Regions from separate parts of the Homo sapiens genome. Here all the other regions are linked to region 1. The links are contacts of gene promoters, found by promoter capture Hi-C in blood cells and fetal thymus (Javierre and others, 2016). All regions are on one chromosome and are shown on one strand. Each heading gives the region's core, a stretch centred on a gene start or on the middle of the fragment in contact. The rest is flanking DNA. Distances are from core to core; before and after follow the strand shown. Region 1 holds the start of PHAX (phosphorylated adaptor for RNA export). Region 2 has its middle 30 kb from the start of CEP120. Region 3 overlaps CSNK1G3 (casein kinase 1 gamma 3).

What was found. Contacts are between HindIII fragments. The CHiCAGO score rates a contact against its expected background, and 5 or more counts as called.
Region 2: a fragment that was not itself captured here is called in contact with the fragment with the promoter of PHAX in region 1 in 1 of 17 cell types (monocytes); the score reaches 5.0 in monocytes.
Region 3: a fragment that was not itself captured here is called in contact with the fragment with the promoter of PHAX in region 1 in 1 of 17 cell types (M2 macrophages); the score reaches 5.4 in M2 macrophages.

The regions. Positions count from the first base shown.
Region 1 is chr5:126,598,444-126,603,205 of GRCh38, reverse strand. It overlaps PHAX (phosphorylated adaptor for RNA export), which reads right to left and starts at 2,259. Exons shown (of 5, transcript NM_032177.4): 1 at 2,148-2,259. The coding sequence starts at 2,243. RefSeq lists enhancers at 631-1,479, 1,480-2,327, 2,328-3,177 and silencers at 1,842-2,091, 2,212-2,421. The HindIII fragment of the contact is 34,757 bases long and covers 1-4,762 here.
Region 2 is chr5:123,450,725-123,455,486 of GRCh38, reverse strand. No RefSeq gene overlaps it. Among named protein-coding and RNA genes, the nearest start is that of CEP120, 30 kb to the right of the region's middle. The HindIII fragment of the contact is 1,575 bases long and covers 1,118-2,692 here.
Region 3 is chr5:123,583,245-123,588,006 of GRCh38, reverse strand. The region is part of intron 6 of CSNK1G3 (casein kinase 1 gamma 3); the gene reads right to left. Among named protein-coding and RNA genes, the nearest start is that of CSNK1G3, 73 kb to the right of the region's middle. The HindIII fragment of the contact is 4,995 bases long and covers 1-4,762 here.

The sequences.
Region 1 (4,762 bases), core at 1,010-3,509:
GAGGCTGGAGTGCAGTGGAGCTATCATGGCTCACCACCTCTCAGGCTCAAGCGATCCTCCTACCTCAGCCTCCTGAGGGACTGGGACTACAGGCAACCTTCACCATACCCAGCTATTTTTTTTTTTTTTTTGCATTTTTTGGTAGAGACGGGGTCTTGCCAAGTTGCCCAGGCTGGGCATGTATTTTTTTTTTTTTTCTTGAGATGGGAGTCTTGCTCTGTCACCCAGGCTGGAGTGCAGTGGCGCGATCTCGGCTCACTGCAAGCTCCGCCTCCCGGGTTCACACCATTCTCCTGCCTCAGCCTCCGGAGTAGCTGGGACTACAGGCGCCCGCCACCACGCCCAGCTAATTTTTTTGTATTTTTAGTAGAGAGGGGGTTTCACCGCGTTAGCCAGGATGGTCTCGATCTCCTGACCTCGTGATCCACCCGCCTCGGCCTCCCAAAGTGCTGGGATTACAGGCGTGAGCCACCGCGCCCAGCCTGGGCAAGATATTTTTAAAACCCCAGAGTCCACGGCATTAAGTTTATTTACCAAGTCATGGGTCAATTTATGTAAAAACAACCTGAGATTGAAAAACAAAATATCTTGGTACTAATTTCCTAAACATTTATATGCAAAAGCAAGTATTTGTCTTTGTTAAACTCCTACTACGCTAGAAATGGAAGTTGGGACTATCTATCTTCCTATCTTCAAATAATAATCAGAGATAACACTTACCAGGCATTACTGCACACTGTATGCTCCACAGAATCCTTGCAATAACCCTATCAGTGGTACATCATGCCAATTCCACAGAGGTAGACAAAAAGCAGTGAGGCTAAATAAACCTGCTGTAGGTCACACATCGGTGGCCCCAGGATCTGAACACAGGCAGCCTGGCACCAACGCCCTCTCAAAGAGGTTGCTACCTACCAAGGCAGTCAAGACAAATTCCCGTTTAGAAAGCAGGGAAGCTGGGCCGGGCGCGGTGGCTCGCGCCTGTAGTCCCAGCACTTTGGGAGGCCGAGGCGGGTGGATCACTTGAGGTCGGAAGTTCAAGACCAGCCTGGCCAACATGGAGAACCCCCGTCTCTACTAAAAATACAAAAATTAGGCCGGGCGAGGTGGCTCACGCCTGTAATCCCAACACTTTGGGAGGCCGAGGCGGGCGGATCACCTGAGGTTGGGAGTTCGAGACCAGCCTGACCAACATGGAGAAATCTCGTCTCAACTAAAAATACAAAATTAGCTGGATGTGGCCGGGCGCCGTGGTTCACACCTGTAATCTCAGCACTTTTGGAGGCCGAGGCAGGCCGATCACTTGAGGTCAGGAGTTCGAGACCAGCCTGGGCAACATGGTGAAACCCCGCGTCTACCAAAAATACAAAAATTAACCGGGCGTGGCAGCGGGCGCATGTAATCCCAGCTACTCGGGAGGCTGAGGCAGGAGAATCGCTTGAACCCGGGAGGCGGAGGTTGCAGTGAGCCGAGATCGCGCCACTGCACTCCAGCCTGGGCAACAGCGTGAGACCACCTCAAAACAACAAACAAAATCAGAGAGGCTAATGCAAAAGCCTAGTGCCATGGTACCGCATGACAAAGCTAGGTTCGGTGGAAACATGGAAAACCAGATCTTTGAGTGAGCGATAAACTTCATTCCTGGGCCTCAGTCTCCCTTCGGCTCAGGGAGAAAATGAGCATCACAGGCTGTTTCAGGCTGATGTCCCTAGATGCTACATATTTGGCAAAATCTGCCCCTTTATGGTTACCTAGCGGCGATGGAGTGGGGAAGCCCCAAGTTTAGAAAAGAAAGAGCGGTAGGCGGAGGTGAGACGTCTAAGAGGCCGCCGCAAGCCGGCCTCCAGGAGGCGCCAGGGCTCGCGCGCCCCGCCTCGCAGGGAGCAGCCAGTTCGGGGTTCGCACGGCCAGCCGCTGCCGCTGCCGCCGTCGCCCCTCGCCCCTCGGCCCCCGCAGCCCGGGCTCCGTGAGCCCGCCTGGGGGACGTCTGCTCGCCCCTTCTGCGGCCACTGACCCGACAGCCTGGGCTCCTCGCTCTGGCCCGGGCTCCTAGCTCCCACCCCTCACCCTCACCGCTGCCTGCGCGCTCCCCGGGGCCCAGGCTCCGCGCGCCCAGCCACGATCACCCACCCTCCTTTCACACTCACTGGCAATTGCAGCGGCCTGTCGCTGGGTGCGACCGTCATGTCGGAATCCGAGTCGGAAAGCTGCCCATCTTCCATATCGCCGACCTCCAACGCCATCTTCCCGCGGTGCGCTGCGCTGCACAGCGGCGGGTCAGGAGAGCACTTCCGGCGGGGCAGCCGGAAGGCCCGGCGGCTCGGCTGCTCGGGCGCCCCCGCGCGGAGGCCAGCCTGTCCCAGCGGCCTGAGGCGTCCCATTGCATTCCAACTACCCCGGGAAAATGAATCCCTTGTTCCCCCAACACTTTTCTTCCAAACTTTATTTTCGTGCAAACATAAATATGTCACGTATCGCGGTCGTCTGGGATTCCTCCCTTGGCCGTACATCCTTCCCCTGTATGCTCTGGACAAGCCTCCCCGCTTCTGTTCTTGCTCCTCCACAATCCACTCTACATATTGCTTCCAGGGAAGCCTTTCAAGCTGTATAGTCCGCCCTCTGTATCCACTCCCCATCCACGGATGCCGAACCTGCGGATGGGAAGGACCCACCGTGCACCCCCACATAATGTAAGGGGCTTGAGCATGGCGGATGTTGGTATCTGTGGGGGTCCTGAAAACAATGACCCGCGGATACCTAGGGAGGATTGTACCTTAGCTCGAATCTTCCAAGTGCATCCCTCCCCAAAACAAGGACTGAGTTCTCAGCATGGTGTTTGAAATGTTTGTTTTCCGGTGTCGTAAAGAAATAGCAACATAAATTTAACTTACTGAATAAGGCCATTTTTACTTTCTGCAGAAAGGGTACACTCGCCAGCAGTTTTGCCAGGAGAGTACACTGAACAAAAGGAGACAGGGTCATTTATAACCTGACGTGTTTACCTTACTGCTGTGGCTGGTTTTTATTGGCTGGACCGGACCTCACATTTTGTATTTGTCCCGATTGGCTAGCAACTTAGAACTTTTTAAAAGAGGCAAAGGTAGAGGAGAACAAAGGAAGGAGGAAGTAACTTGTGGAATGCTGAGAAAGATGAAAACACTTTTAAATAAGGAAGAGGAACAGGCTATGACCTAATGCTTGCTTGGACTAGTAAAAGCATGCCAGGGCAAATATTTAGGCTAAATTGTGGGAGCTAAGAACATAAAGTACATTTTTTTTTATTATGGCTAGCAGATATTTAAGAATGTTAGCACAGATCTTTGAATAAATTTTGCTTTTAAGAGAAGTTACTATTTATTCCTAATTAGACGGGGAGGAAAGTTTTTGAAGAGGAACCTCTGTTTTACTTTGCCACATGGCAAACAAGGTCATGTGGACTGGGCATCTGGTCACTGGTCCTAGTGTGTCCCCCTGCCTAACCGCTGGCGCGCTGAACCTGTTGTTCCTCAGGCCAGGCCTCTGCATTTGCTGTTCACTCGGCCTGAGAGGCCCTTCCCTCAACCCACCCCATTCTTTAAGGGTTATCTTGGAACCCGCCTTTGCGAAAATTATAACAGTGAGAAAATTATGGCAGTGGGAGAGATCTGATCTAGCCAACCCCTATCTTGCTTTTAGCCTTCAAGCTGCCCTTAATTATTCCTGTGCTTGGGCCTGTCAATGTAACTTTGGGAGACATTTAGTTTATAGTTTAAATGATAATAACCCTTCCCCAAAAGCCAACCGCCTTTGTAAAGCTAGTAAGAGACCACCAGGGTAGACGGATAAAGGAGGCTGAATTCTGCTAAGGTGTAGACATAAACCGTTGCCAGTCATTATCCCAGAGGTCACAAGGTATGCAACTTTTCCATTACTCTTCCAGATAATATCACTATTGTAGACCCTAAGATTGGCGTTTTGAGATATCTTTTCAGATATTTTGCATGTCTGACTACCAATGGTTCCACCTGAACCTCTAACCGCTTCTGGGTTCCCACACAGAAGTTGTCGAGCTGCTTGAGGACAATTTCCCATACCCCTATGACTGCATCCCCAACCAATAAGCAGCAAGAACCCATTGCTTAGCCACTCCATCCCTTCCCCAAACTATCTTTGAAAAACACTAGTCCCTGAATTCTCCAAGAGATTGATTTGAGTAATAACTCTGTCTCCCACGTGGCATGGGTGGCCTCCTGTCTATTAAATTCTTTCTTCTTTTTGAGACAAGAGTTTTGCTCTGTCTCCTAGGCTACAGTGCAGTGGCAAAATCTCGGCTCACTGCAGCCTCTGCCTCCTGGGTTCAAGCGAGTCTCATCCCTCAGCCTCCCGAGTAGCTGGGATTACAGGCATGCACCACCAGGCTCGGCTAATTTTTGTATTTTTAGTAGAGACGGGGTTTGACCATGTTGGCCAGGCTGGTCTTGAACTCCTGACCACCCTGACTCCTGATCTACCCTCCTTGGCCTCCCAAAGTGCTGGAACTACAGGCGTGAGCCACAGCACCTGGCTCCTCTGCCACTTTTAATACAGAACTGTTTTAAGGTGTCCTGAGTTTAGCCACTGCATTTTCATTTCTACAGGGCTTTGCAGTTTTCAAAGTGCTTTCATATATGATTCATTTAATTCTGTCTCTTCCTGCTCAACCTCATTACAATTCATCATTTCTGATTTTTCCTGAACTCCTGTTAAGCAGGGCTAACAGGAGTTTTGAAAAAAGGATGTAGAA
Region 2 (4,762 bases), core at 656-3,155, 3.1 Mb after region 1:
TTTGCAAAGGAATATTAGTGATAATGATGATGGGGCAGTCGTGATGGTTTTGGAAAGTTTGTATGTGAACAATAGACCTTTCCATTTATATATATATATATATATATATATATCACTTTCTGGTTTCAGGCTGCTACTGCTATTTATAGTCTACCCTTGATGGTAAGCAGATGTCTCTACTCTTAATCTCTTTCCGTAGCCTTTGTTTCAGGCAAGCTGGCTCATTTCTAATTGTTCCACACTGGGCTAATCCATCCCTTTTGCTTACAATATGCTTGAATGGCACATGGTTAGATGCTGCTACAACGCAGATATTAGGGAATCCCTACATAGTGCATTCTGTGAACATTCCCTGCTCATTGGCATTACATAAAAATGCCCATTATTGAAATGCAGAGATAAATAGGGTTCCAGAACCAAGTGACTACTAGTGCTTCAGGACCTTACTATTTTCTATTAAAGTTGATTCAGAGATAAAGCTCACAAAACTGGAAACACCACCAGATGGGACATCAACTGGAGGTTAGATGTACTTCAGGATATATTAGCAACTGTAATCACAAATTGTTCAGCTATATATTCATAGTAGAAAAGATTATTAGTGGATCAGGGATTCCTAATCATCAGAGTGTGTGGCAGATTAATGTGAAGAGAAGGTTTACAGCCAGGCTTCAGATTATTGTGTACAGCCTGCAGCCAACTGTATCTCTACTATGCCTGTAGTAACAGTGGGTATACATACTTGTGCATATAAACATGACTCATCAGAAATGTCCTGCAGAAAAAAAAAAAATAGTTCGCCATTCCTCACTACTTGTAAACCTACATTTTTCCCTTAGAGTTTCATGTAGATTAATTTCCTTTTCTGTCTACCATTCTAACTCTCAAAGAAAAAGCCTTCTAGGAAATATAAATCAGTGGGTTGCCTCAACTGACATAACACTGAATTGAGAACTTTATCAATAGTTGATATTATGGAGACATTTAGTACTTTTGAGGGAAAGTTGTTTAAGGAAGTAGATACCCATGGGACTATCTTACTAGCACTGCATGCATTTCAGGCTTTTACTGTGCTCAATCAGTAATGTGTTAAAATCACAAAAGCATATGGAAAGCTTTACTTTGTTTAGGAAATATGTTTACTGAATACAGTGCAGGCATATACAGTTGCCCAAAAGGGAAAACTAAGAGGAGATTCTGTTTGCTGATTGCTTAAAGGGGGTTTCAGGATTTTATTAGCATCTTTATGTAACCAGGAAAGGGGAATCAGAGTCCTGGACTGAGCCTAAAGTAAGATTTAAGCCCATTCAAACATGTCTGAGGAACTTTTAAGCAGGACTTTCATGAGTCCATTTGCCAGAGAGTTGCTCTTTGAAAAACGGGAGAGGTAGGGAGGTTTTGTGCCTCAGGTATCCCTGTTTCATAGCCAGGGCCCCAAGCGTGAAGTTTAAAGAGAAAGGCGTAGTAGGCATGAAGCATCGAAGCAAATTCCCTAAAGCACTCAAGGGAGTAGAATGTGGCATCAAGAGGCAGGAGGCTAAGTATTCCCTTCCCTTCTGGGTGGAAAAGACCTTGGCTTTGGTACAGTAAGACTCCTGGAAATCCAATGTTGGGAGCATCTAGGGGAGGCACCCTGGTGTGGCTAGACATTAGCCTTGTCACAGGACCAGCAGCAGGGGAGGTAAAACGTACCCTCAGGTAGCTTAGGCAGGATCTGAGTTTTTGTAAGCCCATGAAAACCTTAAATGGGGAATCCAGACATATATTGGTAAGACTTTAAGTGGGGCAGAATTCCTGAAATCACAGGCAGGGGAATGAACCAGTGTTCTCCCCTCAATATTAGCCTATGTGCAATAATGACCACAGACAACATTTCTTCTGAGCATCTTACAAGTCCTAAATCATCGCCTTTCTAAGTTGGATACTATTATTATCTTAAGGGTTTTTTTTTAGATGATAAAACTGAGACGCAGAAAAGTTAAATGACTTACCTAAGGTGACACAGTAATAAATATAGAGCCCAAAATCAGACCCACCCAGACAATCTGACCCCAGACTTCTCTCTTTACCCCTTTACTATACTGCCTTGCAGTATTAAACACACTGGTCTGAGATCAATCAGGTTACCTATGTGACTTTCTATTTTCTTTCAGGAACATCGTCCAACCCTTATAAATCTAAGTAAACATTAGAAACTGTTTATATTATGATAAATTAATTAGCATTGAAAGTTTTCTCTTTTTTTTTTTTCCCAAGACGCAGTCTCGCTCTGTTGCCTAGGCTAGAGTGCAGTGGTACCATCTCGGCTTACTGCAACCTCTACCTTCCGGGTTCAAGCGATTCTCTTGCCTCAGCCTCCCAAGTAGCTGGTAATAAAGGAGCCTGCCACCACGCCTGGCTAATTTTTTGTGTGTTTTTAGTAGAGATGGGGTTTCTCCATGTTGGCCAGGCTGGTTTCAAACTCCTGACCTCAAGTGATCTGCCCGCCTTGGCCTACCAAAGTGTTGGGATTATAGGCAAGAGCCACCACGCCTATGCATTGCCTAGCCAAAAGTTGTCTAAGTATCATTGGATTTGCAGGAAAAATGGCACTTTAGAATTATTTATTAATTTGACAACTGTATCTAAACACTCATGAATAGCTGTCAAATTAGTGAAGGTAAAAAATGCAAAAAGAGTAGTTGAGGAAGCTTGGTATATGGAATGGACATGGAATGAGCAAAACCTAGTTCAATTTTGACTCTTTTGGCCACATATTTTACTATACTTACATTAATTTCCTTAATGAGAAGCTCTGAATCTAGTAGATGACAACAAAGGAAAGAGCTCCAAAAACATCGCCGGAAACATGCAGGGTTCATAGTAATCAGCTACTTAGAGAAGCATAGAGAGGAAGTAGAATAGGGCACGGAGGGGAGCCTTCCTCTCTTTTAATCATTCTATGTTGTGAAAGCAGATGCATTATAGATTAAAGATCGTGTTTGCATCTAATAGGAGAAGGGTCTGGCTTGACTGTTAGGAGAGGTAGAAAAGCTTTTTAAACATAGCATTTTGATTTGTTTTTTTTAGTTATGGTCTTTGAGAATTCAGCCTGTCAGGGTTTGAGACCTTTTCCTTCAACCTTTTCGTCTGGGTTGTATTCTGTTTAAGTTTTTACTCCAGGCTGAAGGAACCTGGAATCAAGAGTAAATTTACATTTCTTTCTGGCTTCCTGTGATAGGCAAAGGAGGAAAGGATCAGGGCCCCAAAACACTGTCTGGGATTAAACGCTGTATTAAGTTTGGGCCCAGCTCACAGGTACCTAAGGGGAGAGATCGGGAGGGACATACATCCTGGTAACTTTGCAGTGTATTTGTTGGTTACCGTATATTAAGGGCCAAATTTCTGAGTTTCACTTATAAAATGATGATAGCACTGTATATCCTACTTACTTCCCAGAATTGTTTCCAAGATTAAATAAGATGATATACATGTAAGTTTTTAGAAAACTATGTAGATTATTTTAAATTAGTAAGTAATTATTCTTTAAACTATATATTTGTGTGCTATGGCTTTTCCATTAGTAGTTATGATTATCTTAATATAATAGGATTCTTTATTAATCACAAAAGCAGCGATTTTATAATATCTTTTGAAAGTAAGTATATTATACTACAATTTGTGCTCTGTAGTCTTATTCAAGTTGAATGACTTTTCATTTATATATTTTTTATTCTTTCCTAAATTTTGAGTGCCTTGAATTCAGGGAGTATTGGATTCATCTTTATTCCCAAGCTTCCGTCACTCAATAAAAGTATGTGACCCAGATGAGTGAATATGCAACCAATCAGTGATTCATAGTCACCAAGGTACATATGTGAAGAAAATGTGATAAAATTTTCATCAAGTGAAAAATGTAGATTGTTAAATAATTTTTGAGAGAATAGAAGTGTTGGATTATTTGTTAAATGACTATACTAAATGTCTTCAGTTCTGGTTTAATGTGTTTGGAGGTTCATAAATTCTTTCAGGCTACTAGGATGCCCTTTTAGTTAAGATAAAACCCTATTTTACTAATGGTACCCTAGTGACCTCTGGACATTAGTGAAAACTGCCTAATTTATGCCTGTGGCTAACTCGTTTATCAAATAAAGTCCCACCCAGAATACAGACATAAAGAGAAGCAGGGTTTAGATCACTCCAGGGGCAACTGAGCATCTGTTCAGTGCCCCAGGAGGCAAGATATTGAAAAACATATTTGAGAATGAAGAGATGTAGGGCCCTAATCCTGACTCTGCCACCAAACAGCTGTGCGACCTCAGCTAATCAAGCCTGTTTTCTAATCTTGAAACTCGCAGTGGATCTCAACCACTACTAATTTACCACAAATATATATATGTAGCATAGATGGCAGGCCTGAGTTTTTTGAACAAATTTTAAGACATTATTATAATGAAAGGAAGCACAAAACTCATAAAATTTTGTGTTTGCATTTTGTTGTTGTTTACTGTTTTTTTCTGTTATGGTGAGACCCAGGAGTTTGGTGGATTTATACCATATAAGAGGTTGAAAACCAGTGGAACTGAATGATTCCTACTACATGTTCCACACTAAGGTTCTGTGAGTCTAGTTAATCACTGAGTGTTTGTATGAAAGGAAACAAAGCTGGCCATGAGCCAGAATTTGTTCTAGTTGTCAAGCCAAAGCCTGCCCCTCAAAATAATGAGCTTTTAAAGTGGCTAAAACTGTTTTTATTCTTACAGTGAGCAGCTTGCTTATAATA
Region 3 (4,762 bases), core at 1,163-3,662, 3.0 Mb after region 1:
GAGTTTGTTCTTTCATTATGTATAAATTAATTTCCAAAAGTTCAACATATAAATACAAAATACAGATCTAGTAACTATAAGTGATAAAATTATATCTATATAAATAATGTTTTTACATTAAGATTATTGAGCATCTTTAAAATATTCCATTATAATTTTTAGATGCTGTTAGAGATTTATTTATCTGCTTAGATGTCTATTCATGGAAGTACAGGCCACGGGGAAAAGAGTTCCATGGTCAGAGTCACTGTATACTACAGCTCTGTCTTAAAGATTCAGAAGGTAACGTATTAAAACTTCTGAGAAATCTAGAATTTAAAATGTTTAACTTTTTCAACCCTGCATTTCCTAAAGTTATATGAGCACAAAACTCCCATGATAAATACTCTCCATTAAATTAAACACGATTATGGAGTATTGTGTGTAATATATTTTAAGAAAAACTTGTGTTTGACACATACCAACATTAATAACCCCTTCACTATCACAAAAAATACTACTTGAACAAACTGTCATTTTCAAGTTGTTGTTGTAACAAAATGTCATTTAGCACATAAGTGAATAAAGATTACAGACTAAGGCTCAGGGAGATGCTTATAAATACTTGCTGACTGAATGATATTTCAATTTTTCTGTCACTGAAGTTAAATACTTAAGATTTCTTGATGTTTCAAAATAATACCAAAATGCTAACTACCAATGAGAAAATACTTTAATAAGAGGATGTCTGTTTATGTGCAAGATGTTTTATCCACATGAACAATCATACTATCTAGGCAGTACTTAATGCTTTCAGAAAAGCAAACTTTTCAAAGTATGGCTCTGAACTAGGATGAAGGGTCAGAAAAGGTTTTGATTTTTACTGTGTAAACATTCTATACTTGTTGATATGGTTTGGTTGTGTTCACACCCAAATCTCATCTTGAATTCTCATGCGTTGTGAGAGGGACTCAGTGGGAGGTAATTGAATCATGGGGGCAGGTCTTTCCCATGCTTTTCTCCTGATAGTGAATAAGTCTTATGAGACCTGATGGTTTTATAAGGAGTTTCCCTGCACAAGCTCTCTTTGCCTGCCACCATCCACATGAGATGTGACTTGCTCCTCCTTGCCTTCTGCCGTGACTGTGAGGCCTCCCCAGCCATGTGGAACTGTAAGTCCATTAAACCTCTTTCTTTTGTAAATTGCCCAGTCTCAGGTATAACTTTATCAGCAGCAGCAGCATGAAAACAGACTAATACACTTGTTTTCAATAACACTTGTTATGATTTAAAGATACTATGTTTGTGTTTTTATTTAATCAATATATATGCTTCCACCAGACTGCAAGTTGCAGAAGTATACATCAAAATTGACAGTCATTAAGGCTACAAGATTGGAAGACTAGAGAAGAGATTTCAACTTCCCATTTCGCATGCTAAAAATGTGATATAACGGAGAGGTTTTTTTATTTCTTGTACTTTTTATTATAAAATGTAAGTATATGCTATTAAAAATAGCAAATTTTCCAAAATAAGTAGTGGCCTTAAAGTCCATCTACATCCACTAATGAAAGTGGGGATGAGAATATGAAAAAAACTAGTTATAACTTTTATAACGAAAATTTTACTTCATTAGATTCTCGTAGTCCTGAGGGTATAGTTTGGTAAGTTTTAACAACAAACACACCTGCATAACTACCACCACAATCAAGAGGCATTTCTAATGCTCCAAAATGTCTCTTGCCTATTACTCTCCCCCAACCCCCACAATACCATCAGCCTCAGGCAACCACTTATCTGCCTTCATCACTACAGATTAGACAGGTGCACATGAATGGAATCATACAGTATAGATTCGTGTCCAAATTCTTTCACTTACTATGTTTTCAGGATTTATCCATGTTGTTACGTGCAACCATAGCTCATTACTTTTTAATGCTGAGTAGTATATTACAATGTGTTTATTCATCTGTTGACAGACATTTGAATAGGTTCCAGTTTGGGGCTATTGTGAATAAAGCTGTTATGAACATTCTTCTTGTACTAGTCTATGTTGACATACATTTTCATTTATGTTGGGTTAATATCTAGAAGGGGGATTGCTACATGATGTTGTAAGTATAGGTTTAACTTTATAAAAAACTTCTATATGATTTTCCAAAGGGGTTATGTCATTTCACATTTCTACCAGCAATGTATGGGAGTTTCAGTTGCACCTGTCCAACCTCTGTATGGTCTTTTAAATTTTAGCCATGCTAGTGGCTATGAAGTATAAGCAGTAATAAATCCTTTCAGAAAAGCAAACTTCAAAGTATGGATTAACTGACTTAATTTGTATTTCACTGGTGACTAACACTGAACTTTATTTCATGTGTTTGCCTGTTTAAAAAATTGGATTGTCTTACTAAAAAGTTGTAATAGTTCCTTGTATATTCTGGACACAAGTTATTTTCAGATATGTTTTGCCAATACCTTTTCCCTTCAAGAAAACAGCTTGCTATTTTTTTGTTTTCTTAAGAGTATGTTTAAAAGAAATTTTACATTTTGATGAAGTCCAATTTATCAGGGGTTTTTTCCTCTTATTTTCTATACTTTTTGATGTCCAATCTAGGAAATCTCTACCCACAAGATCACAAAGATTTTATCCTGTTTTTTCTTCTAGAAATTTTATAGTTATGGTTCCTACATTTAAACCTATTACTCATTTTGAAGTAATTTTTTTTTTTGCTTTTGGTGTGGAGTAAGGATTTAGATATATTTTTTTCAATACTAATATCTAGCTACTCTCATATAGTTTCTTGGCAAAACTATCCTTTCCCCTCGAGTTGCTTTTGCACCATTCTCAAAAATCAATCGGCCATCTATGTATAAGTCTATTTCAGACTCTGTATTCTGACCAACTTATCTGTATCTGCCTTCATATCAATACCACCCAAAATAAACAGAAGGACAAAATAATGACAAATGAGGAAATCAATGACCAATGGACAATCAGTAATGAAAACCAATGAAAACAAAAGCTGGATTGGAAAGTTCAATAAAATCATTAATCCTCTCAGCAGGCTAAAAGAAAGAAACACAAATTACCAATAACAGAAGAAACAGAAGAGGCATCAGAACAGATCCCACAGATATTAAAAGAATGATAAAAGAATACTACGAAACAACTTACATGTAAATTAAACAACTTACATGAAATGGACAAATATCTTGAAAGCTACTAATAACTAAAACTGCCTCAAGAAGAAAATGTGAATAGCTCTGCATCAATTAAAGAAATTAAATTTATTATTTAAAAACTTCCCAAAATACAATCCAGATAGCATCGCTACTGAATCCTATTAAACAGTTAAAGAATAATACCAATTCTACATAAACCCAGGATTGGAAGAGTTCCCAACTCACTGCATTACCCTGTTACCAACAACAGATAAAGACATTACAATTAAAGGAAACTATAAGAAATATTCCTCATAAACACAAACATGAAATCCTTAAAAAGATAATACCTCATGACTAAGTAAGGTTCATTCTAGGAATGTAGGTTTGGTTTAACTTTTAAAAATCAATCAATGTAATTCGCCAAATTAATAGAATAAAATATAAATCATATTGTCATCTCAGATACAGAAAAAGTACTTGACAAAATCCAACACGTATTAATGATTTTTAAAAAAATCTCAGCAAACTAGGAATTACAAGCCAACTTCATCCTGACAACAACTACGAAAAATGTCAACTAACATAATTCTTAAATGATAAAAGACACTCCTAAGATCAAGAACGAACAAAGATGTCCACTCTTACCCTTTCTATTCAGTATTGTACTGGAAGTTCTTGCCAGTACAAAGAAGCAAAGAAACAAAATTAACAGATATTCAGATTGGAAATGAAGAAATAAAACTATTGCTCTTTGCAGACAACAGGATTGTATATGTAGAAAAATCCAAATAACCTACAAAAGGTCTATTACAACTAGTAGGTAAGTTTTAGCAAGGTTACAAGATATAAGGTTAATACATAAAAATCAACTGGGGCCAGGCTCGGTGGCTCACACCTGTAATCTCAGCACTTTTGGGAGGTCGAGCCAGGTGGATAGCCTGAGACCAGGAGTTCAAGACTAGCTTGGGCAACATAGAGAAACCCTAACTTTACAAAAAAAAATTTTTTTTAATTAGCTGGTGGCTGGGTGTGTTGGCATGCACCTGTAGTCCCAGTTACTAGGGAGGCTGAGGTGGGAGGATTCCTTGAGCCTAGGAGGATGACAATGCAGGGAGCCATGGTTGCACCACTGCATTCCAGCCTGGGTGACAGAGCAAGACCCTGTCTCTACAAAATAAAAATAAAAATCAACTGGATTTCTGGGCCGGGCGCGGTGGCTCACGCCTGTAATCCCAGCACTTTGGGAGGCTGAGGCGGGCTGATCACCTGAGGTTGGGAGTTCGAGAGCAGCCTGACCAACATGCAGAAACCCTGTCTCTACTAAAAATACAAAAAAAATTAGCTGGGCATGGTGGCACATGCCTGTAATCTCAGCTACTCGGGAGGCTGAGGCAGGAGAATCGCTTGAATCTGGGAGGCGGAGGTTGTGGTGAGCCAAGATCGCGCCATTGCACTCCAGCCTGCGCAACAAGAGCGAAACTCAGTCTCAAAAAAAAAAAAAAAAAACTGGATTTCTATACTCACAACGAACAAGTGAAAATTGAATTTTAAAACCAATACCTTTACAACAGCATTAAAAAACAGGAAATATGTAAGGATACATTTATCAATGTATATGCAA